3 separate regions of the Homo sapiens genome follow, and all the other regions are linked to region 3. Evidence: promoter capture Hi-C in 16 types of primary human blood cells and fetal thymus (Javierre and others, 2016). All regions are on one chromosome and are shown on one strand. Each heading gives the region's core, a stretch centred on a gene start or on the middle of the fragment in contact. The rest is flanking DNA. Distances are from core to core; before and after follow the strand shown. Region 1 has its middle 100 kb from the start of LINC01814. Region 2 has its middle 48 kb from the start of LINC01814. Region 3 holds the start of RNF144A (ring finger protein 144A).

The links. Contacts are between HindIII fragments. The CHiCAGO score rates a contact against its expected background, and 5 or more counts as called.
Region 1: a fragment that was not itself captured here is called in contact with the fragment with the promoter of RNF144A in region 3 in 4 of 17 cell types (total B cells, erythroblasts, activated CD4 T cells and 1 more); the score reaches 6.8 in total B cells.
Region 2: a contact is called between a fragment that was not itself captured here and the fragment with the promoter of RNF144A in region 3, in 2 of 17 cell types (erythroblasts and neutrophils). The highest score is 8.5, in erythroblasts.

What each region holds. Positions count from the first base shown.
Region 1 is chr2:8,480,013-8,484,455 of GRCh38, forward strand. No RefSeq gene overlaps it. Among named protein-coding and RNA genes, the nearest start is that of LINC01814, 100 kb to the right of the region's middle. RefSeq lists an enhancer at 1,495-1,594. The HindIII fragment of the contact is 7,766 bases long and covers 1-4,443 here.
Region 2 is chr2:8,533,814-8,537,810 of GRCh38, forward strand. No RefSeq gene overlaps it. Among named protein-coding and RNA genes, the nearest start is that of LINC01814, 48 kb to the right of the region's middle. RefSeq lists cis regulatory regions at 838-1,840, 1,863-3,997. The HindIII fragment of the contact is 3,873 bases long and covers 41-3,913 here.
Region 3 is chr2:6,914,526-6,918,661 of GRCh38, forward strand. RNF144A (ring finger protein 144A) reads left to right here and starts at 2,887. Exons shown (of 9, transcript NM_014746.6): 1 at 2,887-3,097. It overlaps GRASLND (glycosaminoglycan regulatory associated long non-coding RNA), which reads right to left. Exons shown (of 5, transcript NR_033997.1): 1 at 3,877-4,136; 2 at 2,325-2,699; 3 at 1,298-1,442. RefSeq lists a silencer at 2,727-3,216. The HindIII fragment of the contact is 2,406 bases long and covers 2,246-4,136 here.

The DNA of each region.
Region 1 (4,443 bases), core at 600-3,099, 1.6 Mb after region 3:
CACTCAGTTCTGACATGACACCAAGGCCAGAGACTGCTTTGGGGCCAGTGTCTAGAAAACTTTGGATTCTTGGTAAAATGAGACAGATGAGGTTCAAAATGTCTCTCCTGCCCCAAACATCTTCATTCTGCCCCAGACGTGACCACTGCAGCTCCAACAGCCATATTGCAAACAAGAGAAGAATTCTAAGAAAACTGCAGAAGGTTAGTGCTAATATCACCGAGTTTATGAACCAGCACCAGTAACCACTGACCTCCAGTCTTCCTGTTACATGAGGAAAAATAAACTCCTCATTACTTAAAAGCCATAGAGTCAAGCAGTCAGATATGCTGTTACTTGCAGCCTTTGACATATACAAACCAAATATAAAGCGGGAAAATCGTTTGTCCAAAAATGTAGACTGTTCCAAAGAAACTCAACATCAACATCAACCACTTCCCACATCACTCTCTGCCTGATATTTAAGCACATTTTAATCACAATTCCCAGGGAACTCTGTGTGTTCTTCTCCTTTGAATGTATTGCGTCCATATAAGAGGTGGGAAAACTAGTAGTTATGGTTGAAGACCTACACGTGGCATTCTTAATTCTATATAAACCTCACAGTTCCAGGAAAGTTTCTCTCCACCTATGCAACATGTATAATTTTTTCACTCCCCAATGTACAAGAAATTACAGGGAATATTTTATTGTTCCTCAAAAAATTAATATGGTCATTGTCATTTAATATGGTTTAAATTTTTTAAAATTTTAAAATTTTTTTTAAAGTGTTTCTTCCTCCCCAGACACTATTTGGCTGCCTACTCAGTGACAAGTCCCTGCCAGACCCGGTGATTCAAAGCCCAGTTTTGCTCAGGTGTGGACAGCCCTGGGCTTGGGGTGACCAGGGCCCTCCCTGGCCCTAGGGAGTAAGTCCTCATTCATCCAAGCTGATCGTAGCAATTCCCTTCTCCTTGATGAGACAGGTTTGGGAAAAAACATAAGGCATAATTCTGGCTAACAAGCTGAGAGAGGAAGTCCGCTGGGAAACTTCTGAGGAAGCTCCTTCCTCTGAAAATGAGGCATTCACACGGGCCAGGCTGCAGGCACCACAGATCTGAAGCTGCGGTCACTCAACACAGAGATGCCTGTTATGCTCGTGTGAGAGTCCAGGGCAGTTCCAAGTGGCTGGGACAAGGGAGCAGTGGGCACAGGGAGCTCTGCTCCATGCAGTTATTGAGACTCAAGCACAGGCTGTACCATCTTCAAAACCTGGCTTCCACAGTTGCCCTGATGGTCAGACCCCAATTAACCAAAGGGGGAAAGAGCCTGGTCTGCTGTCCTTGGCAGCATCTCCTAGAAGGACAACTTAGTGACCCCAGGAACAGTTGCATTGTTGTTGGATGACAGCAGTAAAAGTGCACAACATACCGCCCTGCTGAAATCGAGAATTCTTTGCACCACCTGAACCAAGCTCATGTGTTTTAAAGACTCCTGCACAGAGACGCTTCTGGGCTGGGCATGCAGATGGCTTTCACCCTCCATCCATCAGACTCAGCCACATGGCCATGCCTGACCGCAGGGGAGGCTGGAAGATATGGTCTGGCTGTGTGTGCAGAAAGAAAAGGAAACAGCTTTGGTGCAAAAATGAAAATGCAGAGTGCCATGTTCATAATTACTAAGAATTTCCAAACAGAGGCAGCAGAGCATTACATCAGTGTAGGACCCTTCTCGGCGTGGGTTCTGTGTGGCTGCACGGTTAAACACTCAATTCAGGCCTGGACAGAGGAGGTGCTTGTCATATGGCAGCCAGCACCATCTCCTCCCTTCCTGACCCACCATGTACCTCCAGCCCATGCTACCTGTTTTCCCATTCACATTCTATCTTACGTCATCTTTCCCCATAGCTCCTTGTGGTCAGGAACCACATCACATGCCTGAGTGCACATAGGCACTTTGAGTGACTAAAGGTATCCCCAAATCAAATTGATTCTAAGTGTTCAGGGTAACAATTTCATGATGCAAAAGAAAGCACACAGATTTGAAGGTTTGATGTGGCTTTGACAGGAGTAACTAAAATCAGTTTAGCAAATCAGATTAAATTTGTGGCCCGTTTTCCTTGACAGCATCTCCTAAAAGTACAGCTTAATGACTCCATGAACAGTTGCATTTTTATTGGATGATAGTAGTAAAAGTGCACAAAATATCTCTCTGCTGAAATAGAGAATTCTTTGGCACCACCTGAACCAAGCTCATTTGTGTGTTTTAAAACAATTTGCATTTGGCCTCATGCTATGTTGTTCTTGCCTGCATGGCCCTGATGGTGCCAGTGTGGGATGATTCTGCAATGGTACGTACTCCTATAGCCAGGATGGCCCACAAGCCCTGTCACCCAGACATCCTCCTTTCCAGCCAGGTCACCTAACAGTGACAGCAGTGGTTTCCCGAAAGGGGTACAGTCCAGTGCAAACCTGGCAGTTTCCAGGCACTTAAAAGTCCAGAAGGAGGGAACCAGCTGCAAAGGGAGGGCCCAGGCCACACCAGGCTCTGAGCTTCCAGGTGAACACCCAGCTGTTCATTATGTTGTGATGATGATGGTGATGGTGATAATGATGGTGATGGTGATGATGATGGTGACAGTGATAGTGATAGTGACGGTGATGATGGTGATGGTGAGGATGATGCTAATGTTAGCCTCCTCTCAAGTTTATCATTCCCTCATTGAGTCAATTTGTATTTGCAACTGTTTATTGACTTTTCCACTCAGCAGGTGCACCTGGACATCGGGGTCGCTGAAGGCAGCTATGGTCCAGCCTCATGACTGTGAGGAGAGTGGAGAGGGAGAGTCCTCAGGGCTGGCCAGCAGTCATCCCCCACTTCTGCTGTGAAGAGAGGAGAGCAAGAGCAACTGTGTCCACATGGAGCTGTTGACTCCCTCCTCTTCCTCAGAACCAAGAAACTCCCATGTACTCTACCCGGCATAGGTCCAGTAGGAATACTACACATAAATTAATCCAAAGCTCTAAGAAGTGAGTGCTGAAAATGACTTTGGATGACATTTATCAGATGGGAAAGCGCACAGAGAGACACACACAACACATGCATACACAAGGTATGCACACACACCAATGACAGGGCATTTACTATATATATGGTACAACACCAAGCTCTTTTCATATGTCATCTCGCTTATAATCCTGTGGGTGGTATTATTATCCCCATTTTACAGGTGAGGAGACCTGCCTCCCAGGTCATTTATGTAGTGGAGCTGGGGCGCCAGTGCAGACTGAGTCTTCTTTCTGCTGTCCACTACCCCCTAGGACACTGGACTAGTCCAGGAAATAAGGCACAGTCCTGAGACAAAGTCAGAGCCTTGGAAGCAGTCAGGGCATCTCACTTTAGGGCCCCAGAGTATGGGGGATGGTGGCTGTCTGGGGCACCAGGCTCCAGACATGGTGTATTAGTCCATTTTTACACTGCTGTAAAGAAATAGCCAAGACTGGGTAATTTGTAAAGGAAAGAGGTGTAATTGACTCACAGTCCCACATGGCTAGGGAGGCCTCAGGAAACTTACAATCGTGGTGGAAGGTGAAGGGAAAGCAATGCACATCTTACATGGCAGCAGGAGTCAGGAGTGGTAACTGCCAAACACTTTTAAACCATCAGATCTCATGAGAACTCATTCACTATCACAAGAGCAGCATAGGGGAAACCACCCCCATGATCCAATCACCTCCCACCACGTCCCTCCCCTGAAACGTGGGGATTAAAATTGGAGATGAGACTTGGGTGGGGACACAGAGTCAAACCATATCACACAGGTCCATCCCATCTCTGCTCTTGGTCTCCAGCTCTTTTTCACCTTGGCAAAGTCTGTGGCACCAAAGAGGGAGAGCAGGCTTGGGAGGTCCCCACACAGGAGGCCTGGAATAGCATACCCTGCTTTCTCAGTTGCAGAATTGTGTACTTGAGATTCTGGTAACTTCTGTTGCATGAATCATTGTAAAGCATTGTTTTAGGTCATACATGGTCATTATAGAGACTTAAGGGAAAACAGAAAGAATATTCTGAAAAAGAAAAAGTAAATTAACTCTAATTGTTCCATTCCCCAGATATAGCCACTCTTCATATCTCAGGGCATTCTTTCTGGTATATGTACGCATACACGCATGCACACATATGTATATACACATGCATATACATAAATATATGCTATGTATAATACATGTTTTATATGTATTATAAATACAAGTATTTTAAATACATATAAAACATGTATTATACATAGCATATGATACATGATGGCACTACACTGTATCTACAATTTTATATCTAATAGTTTAAACCTAACATTACAACATTATCATCTTCCTGGATTATTAACTACTCTTCAATGTGATTTTAATGGCTTTAAAATATTTTATTACATATATGTAAACACCAGATTTATTTATTCCTCTATTA
Region 2 (3,997 bases), core at 727-3,226, 1.6 Mb after region 3:
GGATGTTAAATTTGTGGGAAGGATTATATCAGAGCGTCCAAGCTTAGGGTGTGCTGTGGCATGCAGTCGATGTTGAATGAATGACTTTGTTACCATCATCATTATTACTGTGCTTTCTCATTACGATACCAAATGTATTCACGATAAAATTAAACTCGAAGCCTCTGCCCCAGGACCCGCTACGGGCCTCTTGGAATCACCTCCCTTATTCATGGAGAGAATGCTCAGGAGGATGAGGAGGGAGACCCAGGGCTGACCTGGAGGGGAGGTGGACAGTGGGACAGCAGTCCTCCCACAGGAGCCAGGCCCCCCTCTTCCACCCACCTCCTCACCACCCCATGTGGCTTCCTTCTCAACACTACCAGCTAGAAATGGGACTTGGCTTTTTAAACTCAGCCCCGATGTGGTCACACTGGAGAAATGCATGTCCGCTCTGTCAGGACAGGACACGCAGGAGGACCAGGAGAGACACTCCCAGGCTAATGGGCATGAGCCCTGGGTCCAAATCTCAGCAAGAGGACCCAAGAGAAGACCCAAGGGAGGCCTTCTTCCCCAGAGTCAGGGCTTCTTCCCTGCAGAGAGGGCTGCAGGTGCTTCCTATCCTGTTGGGTCCATGAGTGGCTGCTCAAAGGGACGAGTTCTCGTGGGGAGGCACTTCTGTCCCTTGTCAGGTTAAGTCCTTCACCGGTTCCCACCCCGGACAGGACAGGGCGCACTAAAGCTCCACTGCGTGCATGACAGCCTTCCTGGCTGTGGACCCTCTCGCCCATTCCCCAGACCCCTCTGCAGAGTTCAGGAGTAAGGAACTCGGCGGCATAGCCCCACTGCAGGCGGGGGTTGGATCCCAGCCACACCACTGGCCATGAGCTCAGGCACACCGCTGGTCACTTGACCTCCCTGAGACTCAGATGTTCGGCCTCTGAGTAGGAAGCATCCAGGGCAGACCAGCGAGGAAATGCAATTGACCCCTGACCAGACTCCCAGCCCCACAGCCACCCGCTGCGGGATCTGCAGGCTGTGGAAGGAGCTGAGTCAGGGGTGCTTGGGGGGATGTGTCGGGAGGGGAACCTGCACCCTCACTGGCGGGGGTGGAAGGGGAGGCAGAGGCCAAGGGCTGCCGTCAGGCACCGTCTCAGCAAGAGAATCAGGAACTAGAGCCCCCAGCTGTGAGGGCCCTGTGAGATTTCTTCAACTTTTGTCACTTCCCCACTTTTTCCCCTTTGGTTACCACCCTTCTGCCCGGCGTGACTGTTAATTAACCCCTTACAGCTGCAAGGGCTGGCCTGCAGGGTCAGCAAAGACAGGAGCCAGAGGACAGCCCCACCCCAGCCCAGGCCAGTCCCGAGATGGGGCCAAGCCAGCAGGGCCTAGGTCCAGGCTGAGCGGGTGAGGGGTGGCCCAGGCCTGGAGCCACTGCAGCCAGAAAGGTCCTGGGCCCCCAGCCACCCTCTGGGTAAGCTCCTGGTGAACGTCCAGGCAGGCCTGGTTGTGCAACAGGCCCCGCTCCCAGTAAGTTGCAGCAGGGGGAGGAGATCTCAGCCTGCAAATGCTGCTTTGCTGGTTATACTCTCACCTCTGGCTGGATCCACCCAGCTGCTTCCATGTCTCCTCCGCTCCCAGGCCTGGGGGAGAAAGCCCAGGAGGGAGGCGTAGAGCGCCAGGCCCTTGTGGCTCCCCTGGCTCCATGCAACTGAACTCAGCCCCAGAGGATCTCTGCTCTGACTCGAGAAAGTCCAGGGAGAGGAAGGGGGCTGAGGAGGGGAGCAGAGCACACCCCAGCACATTCCATGATTCATCTGGACCCAGCGCATCTGCCAGGGTCCATGCGTGTGCACGTGTGTGCATTGAGGGTCGCACGTGTGTGGTACTTTCGATCTGAAAACACACAGTATCTCTCCAATCCTCACAGCAGTCTCATGAGCAGAAACGTTTGTGTCAATACACAGATAGGGACACCAAGGTTTGGACTGACTCAGTGACTGGTGGGGATTCTCACGCAGCCCGGGGGGCTCCCACAGTGGTCCCTGCAGAAATCCTGGAACTCTGCTGCAGGTGGTCACGGCTACCAGGCATCACCAGCCCATCTCTGAGACTTCCACACACGGAGGTTTACTAGTAACTCATTTGCATATCTGCCCCTTGCTGGCAAGATCTCTTCCCTACCCCAGCTCGAAGGCTCGGTGCTGCCATCCAAGCCAGCTTCCTGTGTTCTGTCCAGAGCAGAGGAGAGAGAACCACCCACCCAACACCCTTCGTGTAAAAAGCCGTAATCCTCCTGTGCTTGCAGACTTCACCACCAGCCTGCAGCCTCACCTTCCCCCAAACTTCCCTCCTGGTTCTAATTTTTCAGTCCTTTACTCATCTCTGGGGGAAGCGGCCCAGGGGGCGGGAGGCACGTGGGAGGCTGAGAGCTCAGTGTTGAAGTCGGCGGCAGCCCCGGGCTTGGGCTCACCCAGCAGTACCCGCCCCACTGCTGCCTCGGAGAGACAGAATAAGATCCACATCCTAGCCCAGTGCCAGGCCTGGGGAAGGTATGAGACGAACAGGCCCAAACCAGCCAGGACCTGGGCAAGCCCCTCCGGCCAGTGCCTCTGGCCCTGCAGGGCACTTGACCCCCCTCACCTCAGCCCCGTGAGTCCAGATCCTTCCTCCCTGGGCAGACCCCTTCCCACCCACATTGGATGTCCTCTGCAAAACATCACACATCATCTGTTCTCCATTCCTGGAGATCATGACACCATCACACAGGCCTGGGCCCCCAAGACATCACTCTGAGCCCCTGCTATATGTGATGGCCCGTGGAGGCCCAGGTCCTCCGCCTTGTCATCCAGAGAACAGGACTAATGTTCCCTTTAGCTCCTGGTTTGGGGGTGGGGGAGGTTTGTCACGCAGCGAAGAGCAACGGCCCAACTGAACTCAAGATAGGTAACATCTATCACTCTCTGCAATCTGCAAGCTCGTCACTCTGCCTGGGAAGATTAGATTAGTAAGCACCCGGTCATCGGAAAAATCCAGCTCCAGATACCTAATATCTTGTTTTCTTCCGTCTGTGCCCACAGTGTTTGTGAGGCTAACTTGGCTGGCATTTTTTCAAGTGTAGAAACAAAGCAGGCAGCTTTCTCCTTTCCAGGCAGGGCCTCCCCGACTTCAGTCATCTCCCACCCTTGACTCTTCCCCAGACACCTCCTCCAACCCTCTGAGTTTTCCCAAATGGGGCCCAGGCCAGACTCCAGCTATGTCTTGGGGCCCTGGGCACCAGGCTTCCCCTCCCTCCCCTCGTGTTTGCTGATCATTGTCATCAACCCTGGGTTTTCCTGAAAGAAGCACAGCCCATGTGTCTCAGGGTCCTTCTCCCATCTCCTCTTGGCCTCTTGGCCTCCTGGTAGGCTCCACACAGCAACACCAGCCCCCACACATCCTGACCCCTACTTCCCAGAATCGGTCATTTGGCAGGATTTGAAATCATCACTGCTTCCAGGCCTGTTTGCCTGTCACACTCTTGGGAGAGATTATTAAAAGCATAATTTTTAAACAGACAAGAGCAAAGCAGCCCCTTTGGCTAGGGTCTGATGGCTACATCACACCCTCTGGAGAGAAGTACGGCAGTGAAGTTCTGCAGGCGACTCCTGCCGGTCTTGGACGTGATGGGAACTCAGGAGGTCACAAGGCCCCTCAGCCATTCAACCTGACATCGCCAAAACTGGAGGTCTCCTGGGAAGCTGTCTTTTTCATCTCCGTTCCAGGAGCAGAGTAGGACTTGCTTTCTAAGCTGGGGCTCCTCAGATGGGGCTGAGGCTGCAGAGGGTTGGGAGAGCACGAGTCTGGGCTGGGCTGTCCCTTCCTCCCACCCTGGGCCCTGCCACATCACTGTCAGCTTGCCAACACCCCCTGACCTGTCTGTCCACGTGGCCTAAGCTTTCCTGTCTTTTCAAGCCAGTCTTAACCTAGGATCAAAGGGTCCAACTCAGGCAGAGACTCACCTCTTGTAAGATACTGC
Region 3 (4,136 bases), core at 1,637-4,136:
CTTTTTCTTTCTTTTTTTTTTTTTTTGAGACTGAGTTTCGCTCTTGTTGCCAGGCTGCAGTGCAGTGGTGCGATCTCGGCTCACCGCAACCTCTGCCTCTGGGGTTCAAGCGATTCTCCTGCCTTAGCCTCCCGAGTAGCTGGGATTATAGGCATGTGCCACCACGCCTGGCTAATTTTGTATTTTTAACAGAGACAGGGGTTTCTCCATGTTGGTCAGGCTGGTCTTGAACTCCCAACCTCAGGTGATCTGCCTGCCTCGGCCTCCCAAAGTGCTGGGATTACAGGCATGAGCCACCACACCCAGCCCCTTGTCTAATTTTTTAAAAAAAATTCAAGTGTGGGTCTTGAGCTTCCCTTGATTTTCTGTCTAGAAGAGAAGTGTCAGAACGGCTATCTGCTTTCCCAGCTTCTGGGCCATTTGCTGCAGCACTGAGTCGCCAGCCTGCTTCGCATGAGCAGGGAAATTTTGCCCATCTAGGTAATCAGGAAGAGCTTGTTCAATGAGTGAAGGGTGAGTCATACTGCATTGGCACAAACTCTTGGCAACAATGAGTGTCCTTTACAATGGGCTCTATGGGACAGCCCTCTGGGGGAGATGGGCCAGCCAGACCTGAGTAAGGGGCTGGACTGAAAACTGACAGTGACAGGTGGAAGTGAACTTGAGAGACCCAACAAACTTCTTGTTGGAGAGAACTAGGACAGCTGCTCAGAGGCAAAGCTCAGAGTAGAGGATTTCACTCAGTATTTATTGAGCACTTATTATGTTCAAGGCCCTAAGAGGGAATATGTAGAAAAATGCTGTTCTCTAGAATCGTAAGATCTAAGCATCAGAAAGTGAATGCCACAAACATTAAGTGTGGCAGATGCCATGATCAACACAGACAAAGACTAAGTATTACACCAGCTCAGAGATCAGAGATCTAGGGATGGGGAACTCCATGATAGGCCGGGAAGTCTTTGCAGGGAAATCTGCATCTGAGTGCCTTTTGAGGCCTGCTGCAAACAAAACTTTCAATGCCAGTGTCCCCTCTCACTATCTCCCCAACAATGGTTGCATTCACAAAGACAGAGCAGGGGAATGAAGTCACATGTATTACCACATGAGCAATTACAAGTCTCAGTTGGGTCAGGGCATTTTTGCACCTTAACTCTCTTCCTGCAGCCCCAGATGCTCCTTTGCAGTCCCCCAGCTTGAGTGTTATACGTCTGTGTTCCATGAGAATGCCTGCATCTTAATACAGACCCCTTTATTGTGGGGAACACAGCACAACGTCTGTGCATTTGCAGTCACCCACCTGTGCATCCCCTGAATCCTTCATTCATAAGTAGTACTCAACCAGGAACTTCTTTGGTATCCCAGCTCGGACACGGGAGGTGTGAATATATTTTTCATAAAGCCCAGGCCTTTATGCAGAACGATTTTCATCCTCTAGTGAGAGGCTGAAGTAACAAAGTGCTGTTGTTAAGATTCTTCCCATTGTGCATTTTTCTTGAATAATGACATTTCTAAAAAGAATCTGAAACTGAGGCATTAGAAGGCAAGTGCTCGTTCATATATTTGAAGAGGTCAAATATTTACCAGAATAACTTCTCAATACAGAGGGGACAGCTTTATTTTATTTTACTATAAAGATGTATGTGTAGCAGAAGACAAATTATGCAGAGCTTTGAGTTAGTTAAGAATCATCTGATTTAATTCTTTGGAGAAATGAGACAAATTGTAGCTAAGGACTATGGAGTTGTTTTAGTTTGCCAGTTATATTTAATTTGACTATTTCTTTATTTATTGAGAGACAAAGTCTCACTCTGCTGCCCAGGCTGGAGTGCAGTGATGCAAACACAGCTCACTTCAGCCTTGACCTCCTGGGCTCAAGCAGTCCTCCTGCCTTGGCCTCCCAAAGTGCTGGGCTTACAGGTGTAAGCCATGGCACTTGGCCTATTTGACTTGTTTAATCCCTCCGAAGAACTCATACATACTATTGCCACCTCATTTTCCACGTAAGAAAATGGAAGCACGAAGACCTTAATAACTTGCTTAATGGCTAGTAGGTGGTAGAGCTTGAATTTAGACCACACAGTGTGGAGGGTATGCTATTAAGGAAAAACGATGTTCTAGTGGGGTTTCCATTTAATATTGCAGAAAAAAGAATCTATATATTTAAGAAGGTGTTATTTCATGCACACTCGTAGGTTTTGTTCATATATGCACATCTGACGTATAATTTAACATTTGTGTAACTTCAAGCTTCTATGGGGAGTGGCAGAAGATGCAGGAATTCTATTAATACCTTCGCAGATCTTAGATTCCAACAAGCTGGATACCTTAAGAAAAATAAAGAAATTGCTGTGCTTGGATCCCAGATGTCCATTCCACCTTTTGGGACCTCCCGGGGGGCCCTCTTTTCTTCATCCTTCAAGACAAGGATAGTGGGGTGAACAGACAGACTTTCCTTGCGAGGGTTGGCTCAGGAAGGCTCTGGGCTCATCTCACAGCCGCCCCAGCGAGGGTCGGGGAGGCAGGTGCTGGCTCCGGTGGGGTCTGCGGCAGAGCAGGACTGGAGCCCAGGGCGCAGCTGCACAGCTCAACGCCGGTTCGCGCCCTGGTTTACAGCGTTGGGCTGGGTCACCCCTTCTTTCCTAGCTTGCTGCTGTGTGTTCCCTCGGTGTAGGAATCAGGGGAGTGTCTTCTGGAGGCCACTAAAGCAGGAATAGCATTTTCATGTTAGCGTGCACGGGCGGTCTCCGCAGCCCCTCCTCGTGCCGGAGCCTGTCCTGGGGCCTGCGGGGCGGCTCCGGGCCTCGGGCCGGCGCAGGCGGGCGGCAGGGGGCGCTGTGCGGCTCGGCGCGGGGGCGGGGCCGGGGCCGAGCCTCCCGCGTGCCCGGCCTCTGTGCGCGCTCGCGCCCCGCCCGCGCAGCCGCTTCTCCCCGCGCGGGCTCTCGGCAGGCGGGAGGCGGCAGGGCTGGCATTGCAGTGCGGGCCGTGCGGGCTGCGCGGGCGCGGGGAGGCGCGGGCGGCAAACTGCGGGCACCCGGCACCCCGCAGCCAGTACCGGGCGGAGGCGTCAGAGCCGCGCACCGCGGACGAGCAGGCCCAGGTAGAGTGACGCGCGTCCCCTTTGTGTCCGCATCGCCCGGGCCGGCCGCGGAGCGGGGAGGGCGGGACGCGGCGCTGCGCGGCCGGCCTTGGGGCTCGGGGCTTGCGGCCGCGCCTGCCCCGCTGGGTCCTGCCCCGGCGCCCGGTGGCAGCGGGCGGGGGGCAGCGTCCCGGGCGGGGACTCGCGGGCTCCGTTCAGAGGACGCCCGCCCTGCCCTGCCCGTGTCCCTGACCTCGTCCCTGCTCTGCTCCTGCCCTGCCCTGCCTCTCGCAGGCGGCGCCCGCGCCCCAGGGCAGTGGGCGCTTAGGGACCTGGCGTCCCCCTGCCTGCCCTGCGCGGTCGCGGGTCTGCGCTGCGGCGCGGGACAGGGCGCCCCGGGCCAGGGTCCCGCGGGCGAGCTGGCGGCGGGGGCTTTCAAGGTTCGCGGCCCCGCCCGCAGACCCTGGGGCTGGAGCCTCGGCCCCAAGAGGAGGTCTGGGAAAGGACGACGCGTCCGGGGCATCGCCACCGGCGGGGAAGGTCGGAACTGGCCAAGAGGATGCCCCGCACATCCCCTGCGCGCGGGGTCCGCGGCTGCTACTGCCCCTGGTCCCCACCGCGAGCCCTTTCCCGGGGAATGAGCCGCCGCCCGAGCCCCGGAGTTCCCTGCGGGTCTTACCCACCCCAGCCTCCGGCCGCCGACCCCAAGCCCCCTGCACTGTGCTTGGCTCCCAGCTGTTTGGTCGCTTATGCCATCCTGGAGGCTTCCTGGTCCTGGGGTGAAGGGGTGACTTCTTTACCCTAATGGTCTTCGTAGGCAGGTCTCAGGATGTCCACTCCAAAGTTCGTGGTCTTTTTTCTAGAGAATAATAATTTTTAAAATCCATTGAACTGGCCGGGCGCGGTGGCTCACGCCTGTAATCCCAGCACTTTGGGAGGCTGAGGCGGGCGGATCACGAGGTCAGGAGATCGAGACCACGGTGAAACCCCCTCTCTACTAAAAATACAAAAAATTAGCCGGGCGCAGTGGCGGGCGCCTGTAGTCCCAGCTACTCGGGAG